Regions from separate parts of the Homo sapiens genome. Here region 1 is linked to region 2. The links are contacts of gene promoters, found by promoter capture Hi-C in blood cells and fetal thymus (Javierre and others, 2016). All regions are on one chromosome and are shown on one strand. Each heading gives the region's core, a stretch centred on a gene start or on the middle of the fragment in contact. The rest is flanking DNA. Distances are from core to core; before and after follow the strand shown. Region 1 has its middle 78 kb from the start of NHLRC2. Region 2 holds the start of ADRB1 (adrenoceptor beta 1).

Region 1 (5,697 bases), core at 546-3,045, 110 kb before region 2:
GTAATGCCCTAGGGACTCCAGGACTGTCCCTGTCACAATCTGAGAGCCATAGAAAAACCATTCAGTGCCAGGCTTACTTAGAGCGTGTCCTCCTTAAAATTGCTCCTCCAAAGGCTATGTGATGTGGAGCTGTGTCTGTGAGGGCCCTTGAAGCAACCGGATGCTTAGGCCAGAGAGGAATCCATTTAGGATTCGGAGGTACAAGCAGCTGTCCACAGGAAATCCAAGAGCCTTGCCTGAGAAATGAAGAAAACCAGGACACCTTTCACTGATTCCGTCTGCAGAACTCAAAAAGACCTGAATTTTCCTCCTTTATGTTGAGATACAAATCCAAATAGCTTTAAAAGAAACTTTTTTCAAAAAGTTTAATGCTTAAGAATCCAGAAGTCCTCCAAAGTCATGAAGTGGAATGTAATGTAATAACTGGAATCATTTGAGCAGAACATTGCTTAAAGAAACCTGCATGTTTATTAAATGACCACCTTGGATATCTTTCCTTTCAGAAAAAGAAGTTCGAATCTGGATGGCTGAAAAATAATACTTCCAGTTCATTCATATTATCTGCTTCCTCACCAGGTTAAGATAATAGAAACCTCATCATATGGAAAGGTCAAGACTCATGACTACGTGTGCAGCTCAAAACTTCATTTTTCTCTTTTTCAGGAGTCCTCTGCATTCTCATTAATCAAAGCAAAGTTTGCAAATTGTAGCTATGCAAAACTTGCATAAAATCATTTAGTCCTTGATTTTTTCTCTTTGTTCCTTTTCAGTTAACTTTCAAAAAAATTTTTCCCAAACATCTCCCACTTCAGGAAAAAATTTGACAACCCCTTATAAGCCTGCATATTTTGTGACAGAGCTATGATTATACTCAAGCAGCCTTGTCAAGAGAAGCACACTCCAGCTTTTTTCTGAACCTTGATTTTAAAGAGTGCAATGAACTCATTGATGTTCTAATAAGAGCTTTCTGCACGTCAGAAAAGGAAGGGAAATGGGTGGGACTTATAGAAGGTGATGGTTATCATTAATAAATGAAAGCAAAATAAATAAACATAGCTAGCTAAGCCATGCTACTGAAAGTCAATCTGGCCCTAACTCTCCAGGAAACATAATGGTTCAGTCAGGCTAAGGGATGCCAGGGGAAGAGCAACCCTTCTGGAACCCAGAAGACACCAGGTTTTGTTCTGGAATCTCTGGAATGCAGCTGTCAGTGGACGCAACAGGAAAGTGGGTTTCCTCTGATTATAGAGAAGAACTTGACAACAATTAGACATGTCCGTAAACAGAAAAGTCAGAAAAAAATTATGTACTCCCCAGTGCAAGAAGCGTGCAAGGAGAGGCTGGATGATCACCTGGCAGAGAGTGTGTGGAAAGTGTTTCTCCTTTGGGTATGAGGTGAAACTGGATAACTAAAGGCTTAATGTACCTTCTAACTCTAAGAATCTGTGATTCCATAGCTTTGGATGATCAAGAAAAGCCACTCTGGGCCTTGGTTTCCTTATCTGAAAAACAAGAGCCTTGGCACAAAATAGGCCATCTTAGGTCCGTCGCAGCCCAAGATGGTATGAATGACCACCTGATAAACTTGTGATGTTGGAGGCCAGGCTCAGGCATCCCAACTCACTGCCTGGCTTAGAAAGGGTCATCAAACTTCTCTGGGTCTTGCTCTGAAGTCGTTTATATAATCCATGGGCAAGCTTGAAGAACGAGGGAACACAGCCCACCAAGTGCTGGAAGCACCAGAGGAAAGGCAAATACAGGCCACATGCCTCAGGTTAAAATATTTTCAAGGCCGAAGGTTTACTGAACCTTATTTCAGACAATATCAATCAAGAAAAGCATTGAGACCATGCCTCAGAGTTCCTTGTCATGGAATTTAAGGGAGTTTGCCATAAAGCTTATATTGATTACTTGATTTATAGAATAGGTTTCAAGTCTCAAAGACTTGTTTCTAAAAAGGAAACACCTCCAGCAGGGAGGAGGCACAGTTTCTGCTTGTTTTCCAGAAAACTGGTACACCATGCTTCATTCCAGTGACTCCTGGCATTTGTGCCCTATTAATGTTTGGTATAAGTTGGTGCCCAAAGTGTGTTTGGATGAACAAAATAAGTTTTATTGAAAGAAAATGTCTGTTTGTAACAAAGCTATTTTAAACTTGTATATGCACTTCAAGTATGTATATTATATAACATATTTTTAATTACCTTGACAATTTGAATTGAGGTATCAGTAAGGCAAAATCTGTGAGGAAATAAAGACATCTGTGATAACATAGGGACATGGACATAGGTCAGGGTTACAAGGCTAAGTGAAGCTCTGGATAACTTTAGGCCATTTCCTGGCAGGCTTCTTAATTTCAGGTTGAATTTGTCCATGATGAAGTGGGTATTTGCCTCTCAGGGAGCCATTTAGTTCCATACATAGAGAGAAAGGATTTATATGACTCCAAAGAGAAACGTTGACTTATTTTTTCTTTAAGCTGTTGGGGAAAGAGAGGGTAAGGGTGCCTTTACCTATAAAGCTAAAATGCAAAGACTTTAAAGACTCTTTCTGCCTATAATGGTTTGAGTCTCAGGTCCCCAGCCATTGAGTTCCAGTCTAGCAGAGCTCACGCAGGGTAAGAAAGAGTCTCTGGAGCAGGCACAGTGGCTCCTGCTTGTAATCCCAGCACTTTGAGAGGCCGAAAAAGGCGGGTGGGTCGCTTGAGGTCAGGAGTTTGAAACCAGCCTGGCCAACATGGTGAAACCCCATCTCTACTAAAAATACAAAAATTAGCTGGACATGGTGGCGCATGCCTGTAGTCCCATCTGTAATACTCAGGAGGCTGAGGCACGAGAATCGCTTGAACTGGGGAGGCGGAGGTTGCGGTGAGTCGAGATTGTGCCACTGTACTCCAGCCTGGGAGGCAGAGTGAAACTCTGTCTCAAAAATAAAAGAAAGAGTCTCATCCTCTCTCCCAGCCCCTCAGGATCCCCTCCAAGCTTCTTCCCACTCATCCCCAAAACTTGCTCTGAATTCCCCCGAGAATACCCCCTGAGCGTTTTGTTGGTGCCTATTTTATGACATTCATCATATTCCACCTCCTGTTCAGCTCAACAGCCCAGCACTCCTTGACATGTTTATGCAGCTTTGTGTCACCTATGTAGGATCTGGTCCAAAGCAGGGCTTCAAGTAATTGATGAAGAAGTAGCTAACACATGGTTTAGGGTGTCACCCTTCCAAACCTAGATACATTGTAACAGGAGACTGGATGGAAGGATGGATGGATGGATGGATGGATGGATGGATGGATGGATGGATGGATAAATAGATGGATGGTTACACCCCACGGGAGCACACAACTTAAACTCTGAGTGATGTAGAGTCAGAGACTGTGCAGGTAGAAAAGTGGATTTATGGAGAAGATAGCAGAGAAGCAAATAGGGAGAGAAATGGAGAGCAGAGCTCTCTGTCCACTTAGTTGGGACAGGGAGAGGACAGAGAAGGGACTGAAGTGGATCTCTGTGCCTTTGCTTCTCCGTTTGCCAAAGGAGTGGGTTTGGATCATCTCTAAGGTCCCTTCCAGCTTGAGAGCCCACTGGACCACAAATTGTGAATTACTAGTCACTGGGCCCTGGTGAAAGTTAAGTGGTACAGCTGCTTTCACCAGATCAGCCAAACGTTGGCAAGCATTTTTGACTCCCATTTTAAGAAAAATCCTTAAACCTTAATCATAATTTCATATGATGAACTATTTGAGCTCCCAAAGAGGAAATTCTTGCATTTCAAAAACTGCAATTTGAGCACAAACCCCTTGCCATGGCCTTGAATCTGAAGAGCATCCTTTCTGCCTCCCTCTTCTTTTTTCTTTTCTTTTCTTTTCTTTTTTCATTTCGTTTTGTTTTGTTTTGAAATAGAGTCTCTTTCTGTCACCCAGCCTGGAGTACAATGGTGTGATCTCGGCTCACTGCAACCTCCACCTCCCAGATTCAAGTGATTCTCCTGCTTCAGCCTCCCAAGTAGCTGGGATGACAGGCATGCACCCCCAGTCCCTGCTAATTTTTGTATTTTTAGTAGAGATGAGGTTTCACTATGTTGGCCAGGCTGGTATTGAACTCCTGGCCTCAAGCGATGCACCTGCCTTAGCCTCCCAAAGTGCTGGGATTACAGGCATAAGCCACCGCACCTGGCCTCCCTCTTCTTTTGTAGAATGTTGCTGATTCCTCTGTGTGAGCCTACCAACTTGTATGCACAGAAGGACATGTCCCACAGCGATCCCACTACACCCACTCCTTTTCCAGCAGAACCCTGACCTTTGCTTCTTGTTATAAGCCAGCATAATTACAAGCAGCAGAGACTACCAAAAACTCTACACACACGTGCTCTCGCACTCATACACAGACATGGAGCTGCTGTGAACAAACTGTTCAAGTGCATTCAAGTTCAAGAGCATGAGTGGGAGAAGGGGAGAGAGATTTTAATCTTTGGCCTGTCACATGGGAGAAGAAAGAAAATATCACGTCCTCATGCCTGTGTCCTGTAATGTTTATCGTCTGAGATCACAGGCAACGAATCTCCTCCCTGTGTCCCGTTTCCTCCCCCAGCCCTGGGTTGGGGATGCTGGCTTGGAATTAGAGAAGACAGGATATGTGCTGATCAGTAGAGGAAAAGTGAAGACTGAGTTCTAGATGGAGCCTCAGGGGCTAGAAGATGGGGCCTAACCTGGGGTATATGTGCACTTTGACCCACTAGAAATTATGTCTTAATTTTTTATGTCTTTGCAGATGTAGTTAAGTAAAGAAGAAGTTCTACTGGATTAGGGGTGGGTCCTAAATCCAATGACTGTGTCCTTGTAAGAAGGCCATGTGTGGGAGGCCAAGGCGGGCAGATCGCCAGGTCAGGAGATCGAGACCATCCTGGCTAACACGGTGAAACCCCGTCTCTACTAAAAATGAAAAAAAAAATTAGCTGAGCGTGGTGGCGGGCGCCTGTAGTCCCAGCTACTCGGGAGGCTGAGGCAGGAGAATGGTGTGAACCTGGGAGGCGGAGCTTGCAGTGAGCCAAGATGGCACCACTGAACTCCAGCCTGGGTGACAAATCGAGACCCCGTTTCAAAGAAAAAAAAAAAAAGCCATGTGAACACACGGAGACAGGTAACCAGGGAGAGCACCATGTGAAGAGGGAGGCAGACACTACAGTGATGCCACTGCAAGCCAAGGATTGCCACGGATGGCCCGCAACCACTAGGCTGTGGTCTTTGCCTTCTGCCATTTTGTTCTGGGTTGAACAGTGTCCTCCCTCAACACTGTAGATATTGGGGCAGTCTGTAGCTGGAATCTCTTTTTAGAGATAATACATGTATGGATTTTCCAGGGATGGCATGACAAATTAGTACAAATTAGATGACTTAAAACAACACAGATTTATTCTCTCATGTTCTGGAGGCTAGAAGTCTGAAATCAAGGTGTTGGCAGGGCCACACGCCCTCGGAAGGCTCGAAGAAAGAACACTTCCATGACTCTTTCTGGCTCCTGGTGGTTGCGGGCCAACCATAGCATTCCTCGGCTTGCTGTGGCATCCCTCCATTTTCTGTCTCCCTCTACACATGGGGATCTCCCAGCGAACGTGTCACTGCGTGTTCACACGGCCTTCTTTTTTTTTTTTTTTGAGATTCAGTCTTGTTCTGTCACCCAGGCTGGAGTGCAGTGGTGCAATCTT
Region 2 (5,538 bases), core at 331-2,830:
TTTACTCCTCAAGGACTCAATTAGAGATTTTTTTAATTTTTTTATTTTTTTTTTTATTTCAGGCCTGAGCTGAGGACACTACAGGAGCCAAATTAGAGAAGGGGCTTGCAGTCCTGCCATATTGCATATTCATGGCTTTCTTGTCCCCTCACCCCCAGTATAATCCTTTTTGCCAGGTTAACAACTCACTAATTTCAAAGCAATTCATTTGCCAACTCAAAAAAAAAAAAAAAAAAAACCACAGATACAACTTTAAATGCTTTTGGATTTTAATCCTCTGGAGTATTTATATGTTTTCTTGTCTCATCCCTTCAAAACTAATCTCAGAGTTTTGAGAATCTGGGAACTTGGGCAAAGGAGAAAACAAGCACGCAGACCAAGGAATCTGAAATCGCAGTTCATTACGTCAGCATAAACTGACAGTACCTTTTTGTTTGTATTGACCCAGCTCAAATTATAAAATCACATGAGTAATAAAACACAAAATACAGGTGTTATCATTGAAAAGTCTAAAATGTAATTAAACGCGTTTTTTCCCCCTCGCGGTGGTATCGTTTACTCTGTATCTCAACGTTTCTGTCTCCCTAAGCCTCTCCTTTCATATCATGAGCATACATTTTTGCATCATGCTCACACGTTCATTAGCTAGGACTGAGGAGTGTGTACGATTCCAAAGGGCCCTCAGCGTTAGCTGTTAGATGCACAAACCTTCGCTTCCTTTCCACATCTACTGCACTCGAGGTTCAACAGAGGATCCTTGCAAGAACAGCGCCCAGAGAGCATTCTTGACAGATGCGCGCTTGGCTCCAGCAACCCGCTCTGCTGGGAAGTTTCTTCTAACCACTAACACCCACCTCCAATCCCCCAAGCTGTCACGACGCATGCTGGCTGGGTCCCGTCTTGACGGGGGAAGGGTTTTACACACACCCTGCTAGGCTGCCCCACATCACAACCAAGCTCGCAGGGCAAACTCCTCCAAGCCTGGCGGACAAGCTGTCCCAGGCGCTCTGGCGCTTCCTGAACACCAAGGTCCCCTCCCCGCTCAAGGGAGCTAGCGCTCTGTTCCGCAGAGAACCCCGGAACTGCAGGTCGAGGGGATGCGGGGGGAGCGGGGGCGCAGGAGGGAGCCGAGTGCTGGAGGCAAACGGGGCGCAGGAGCGGGTGCGGGAGGCAAACGGGGCGCAGGAGCGGGTGCGGGAGGCAAACGGGGCGCAGGAGTGGGTGCGGGAGCGAGTGGGGGCTGAGGGAGGGGACGGGGCCCCGGGGGGAGCCAGGCGCGGAAGGGGGCGCGGGGGAACAGGGACCAGGAACCAGCGGGCGCAGGAAGGGGTGCGTCCGCAGGAACCCGCGGGCGCACGGGAGGCACTAGCTACGCGATCAGCTCGGGACTCTCAGGAGCCGCTCAATTGCCAACGGGAGGGGGGTGCGGGGAGTTGGAGGTGGGGGTGCAGACCAGACGGGGGCGTGCCTTTGCCCGGATTGGCTGCAGGAGCCTGACGCGAGGCCCCGGGGGTTGGCTTGGGGAGTGGGAGCGGGGTGGGGTGGGTGCTGGGTGCCGGAGCTGCGGGCCCGGCGCGCTCAGAAACATGCTGAAGTCCCGGCGGCTCTTCCAGCAGCGGCAGCGGCTCCAGCAGCAGCGGCGGCGGCGGCGGCGGCGGCAGCGGCAGCGACAGCGCTCGGCTCCTGCGGGAAAGGCGCCCGGCGCCCATGCCTCCGGCCCCGCGCCGCGGCTGCCCTGACCCGGCCGCGACCTCCCTCTGCGCACCACGCCGCCCGGGCTTCTGGGGTGTTCCCCAACCACGGCCCAGCCCTGCCACACCCCCCGCCCCCGGCCTCCGCAGCTCGGCATGGGCGCGGGGGTGCTCGTCCTGGGCGCCTCCGAGCCCGGTAACCTGTCGTCGGCCGCACCGCTCCCCGACGGCGCGGCCACCGCGGCGCGGCTGCTGGTGCCCGCGTCGCCGCCCGCCTCGTTGCTGCCTCCCGCCAGCGAAAGCCCCGAGCCGCTGTCTCAGCAGTGGACAGCGGGCATGGGTCTGCTGATGGCGCTCATCGTGCTGCTCATCGTGGCGGGCAATGTGCTGGTGATCGTGGCCATCGCCAAGACGCCGCGGCTGCAGACGCTCACCAACCTCTTCATCATGTCCCTGGCCAGCGCCGACCTGGTCATGGGGCTGCTGGTGGTGCCGTTCGGGGCCACCATCGTGGTGTGGGGCCGCTGGGAGTACGGCTCCTTCTTCTGCGAGCTGTGGACCTCAGTGGACGTGCTGTGCGTGACGGCCAGCATCGAGACCCTGTGTGTCATTGCCCTGGACCGCTACCTCGCCATCACCTCGCCCTTCCGCTACCAGAGCCTGCTGACGCGCGCGCGGGCGCGGGGCCTCGTGTGCACCGTGTGGGCCATCTCGGCCCTGGTGTCCTTCCTGCCCATCCTCATGCACTGGTGGCGGGCGGAGAGCGACGAGGCGCGCCGCTGCTACAACGACCCCAAGTGCTGCGACTTCGTCACCAACCGGGCCTACGCCATCGCCTCGTCCGTAGTCTCCTTCTACGTGCCCCTGTGCATCATGGCCTTCGTGTACCTGCGGGTGTTCCGCGAGGCCCAGAAGCAGGTGAAGAAGATCGACAGCTGCGAGCGCCGTTTCCTCGGCGGCCCAGCGCGGCCGCCCTCGCCCTCGCCCTCGCCCGTCCCCGCGCCCGCGCCGCCGCCCGGACCCCCGCGCCCCGCCGCCGCCGCCGCCACCGCCCCGCTGGCCAACGGGCGTGCGGGTAAGCGGCGGCCCTCGCGCCTCGTGGCCCTGCGCGAGCAGAAGGCGCTCAAGACGCTGGGCATCATCATGGGCGTCTTCACGCTCTGCTGGCTGCCCTTCTTCCTGGCCAACGTGGTGAAGGCCTTCCACCGCGAGCTGGTGCCCGACCGCCTCTTCGTCTTCTTCAACTGGCTGGGCTACGCCAACTCGGCCTTCAACCCCATCATCTACTGCCGCAGCCCCGACTTCCGCAAGGCCTTCCAGGGACTGCTCTGCTGCGCGCGCAGGGCTGCCCGCCGGCGCCACGCGACCCACGGAGACCGGCCGCGCGCCTCGGGCTGTCTGGCCCGGCCCGGACCCCCGCCATCGCCCGGGGCCGCCTCGGACGACGACGACGACGATGTCGTCGGGGCCACGCCGCCCGCGCGCCTGCTGGAGCCCTGGGCCGGCTGCAACGGCGGGGCGGCGGCGGACAGCGACTCGAGCCTGGACGAGCCGTGCCGCCCCGGCTTCGCCTCGGAATCCAAGGTGTAGGGCCCGGCGCGGGGCGCGGACTCCGGGCACGGCTTCCCAGGGGAACGAGGAGATCTGTGTTTACTTAAGACCGATAGCAGGTGAACTCGAAGCCCACAATCCTCGTCTGAATCATCCGAGGCAAAGAGAAAAGCCACGGACCGTTGCACAAAAAGGAAAGTTTGGGAAGGGATGGGAGAGTGGCTTGCTGATGTTCCTTGTTGTTTTTTTTTTCTTTTCTTTTCTTTCTTCTTCTTTTTTTTTTTTTTTTTTTTTTCTGTTTGTGGTCCGGCCTTCTTTTGTGTGTGCGTGTGATGCATCTTTAGATTTTTTTCCCCCACCAGGTGGTTTTTGACACTCTCTGAGAGGACCGGAGTGGAAGATGGGTGGGTTAGGGGAAGGGAGAAGCATTAGGAGGGGATTAAAATCGATCATCGTGGCTCCCATCCCTTTCCCGGGAACAGGAACACACTACCAGCCAGAGAGAGGAGAATGACAGTTTGTCAAGACATATTTCCTTTTGCTTTCCAGAGAAATTTCATTTTAATTTCTAAGTAATGATTTCTGCTGTTATGAAAGCAAAGAGAAAGGATGGAGGCAAAATAAAAAAAAATCACGTTTCAAGAAATGTTAAGCTCTTCTTGGAACAAGCCCCACCTTGCTTTCCTTGTGTAGGGCAAACCCGCTGTCCCCCGCGCGCCTGGGTGGTCAGGCTGAGGGATTTCTACCTCACACTGTGCATTTGCACAGCAGATAGAAAGACTTGTTTATATTAAACAGCTTATTTATGTATCAATATTAGTTGGAAGGACCAGGCGCAGAGCCTCTCTCTGTGACATGTGACTCTGTCAATTGAAGACAGGACATTAAAAGAGAGCGAGAGAGAGAAACAGTTCAGATTACTGCACATGTGGATAAAAACAAAAACAAAAAAAAGGAGTGGTTCAAAATGCCATTTTTGCACAGTGTTAGGAATTACAAAATCCACAGAAGATGTTACTTGCACAAAAAGAAATTAAATATTTTTTAAAGGGAGAGGGGCTGGGCAGATCTTAAATAAAATTCAAACTCTACTTCTGTTGTCTAGTATGTTATTGAGCTAATGATTCATTGGGAAAATACCTTTTTATACTCCTTTATCATGGTACTGTAACTGTATCCATATTATAAATATAATTATCTTAAGGATTTTTTATTTTTTTTTATGTCCAAGTGCCCACGTGAATTTGCTGGTGAAAGTTAGCACTTGTGTGTAAATTCTACTTCCTCTTGTGTGTTTTACCAAGTATTTATACTCTGGTGCAACTAACTACTGTGTGAGGAATTGGTCCATGTGCAATAAATACCAATGAAGCACAATCAAGATTATGTACTGTGTGTCTGTAAAGGGTCAGTGACAATGAAAAAGACAGCTTGTTTTGTTCAAAATATAGACTGGATTTCCCATAGAGCTCTTTTAATAGGTTTCCATGACTCAATAACATAGCAAAATGCCTCCAGACCTAAATAAGGTGTTTACCTACTGAGAGCTACAGATTTACCCTACATTTTCACAGCCGGATTCAAGGTGTTCTAGACTACTTGTAGGCACTTTCAAGATCCCATCTGCTGCACTTGACTGAAGAAGTGACCTTTGTGATTGCGTAGCTCCTAAAAAAAAAAAAAAAAAAAAAAAAGTGACGCGGTCATTTAACTCAGCTGCAACTTTTCACGGAAATGCAGGAAAGACTAACTCATTGAATGATCAGTTGCCTACTTGGAATGCAATAAGTGGCTTCCACAGCTTATTTTTGTTTTCCAATAGAAAATCACAGCCTGCGGATGATCAGTGTGTGCAGATTTCTCCAGAGGCTGTTTAGAATGAAAAATGCTTTCATGGTTAAGCAAAAATGTATAAAAGGGCTTCTGAAGTAAATTTTTTTCTCTTATGTAGTTAAATAGATCATTTTGCCAGAAGTTCTGGGTGGACAGATCATAGGTAAAAGCAAGTGTGAAAGGATTTAAGTTTCCAACAAAATTACAGCACCCAAAGGATGGGGTATTTTTCATAAAGTTATTTCCTAAAGGAAGGGATAGTGCAATTCTGTCCTGAGATTAATTTTACATTCTCCAAAATACATTTAAAGTTCTTACTATATTTTTAAATAAGCTTTTTATTTCATGACCATACAGTAAAGAAACCAAAGTAAAGAATATTAACTTCTGGCTTATGCTGCACTTTAAATGAGCGGAGTATTCTTTAACAGGGAAAAGTTGAGACTGAATATTCTTTTTTGCA

What was found. Contacts are between HindIII fragments. The CHiCAGO score rates a contact against its expected background, and 5 or more counts as called.
Region 1: a fragment that was not itself captured here is called in contact with the fragment with the promoter of ADRB1 in region 2 in 2 of 17 cell types (monocytes and M1 macrophages); the score reaches 5.3 in monocytes.

The regions. Positions count from the first base shown.
Region 1 is chr10:113,929,738-113,935,434 of GRCh38, forward strand. No RefSeq gene overlaps it. Among named protein-coding and RNA genes, the nearest start is that of NHLRC2, 78 kb to the left of the region's middle. The HindIII fragment of the contact is 200 bases long and covers 1,696-1,895 here.
Region 2 is chr10:114,042,286-114,047,823 of GRCh38, forward strand. It overlaps ADRB1 (adrenoceptor beta 1), which reads left to right and starts at 1,581. Exons shown (of 1, transcript NM_000684.3): 1 at 1,581-4,619. The coding sequence starts at 1,848. The coding sequence ends at 3,281. It overlaps LOC124902554 (a long non-coding RNA gene), which reads right to left. Exons shown (of 2, transcript XR_007062383.1): 2 at 4,677-4,910. RefSeq lists an enhancer at 949-998 and silencers at 1,269-1,548, 1,619-1,678. The HindIII fragment of the contact is 8,909 bases long and covers 1-5,407 here.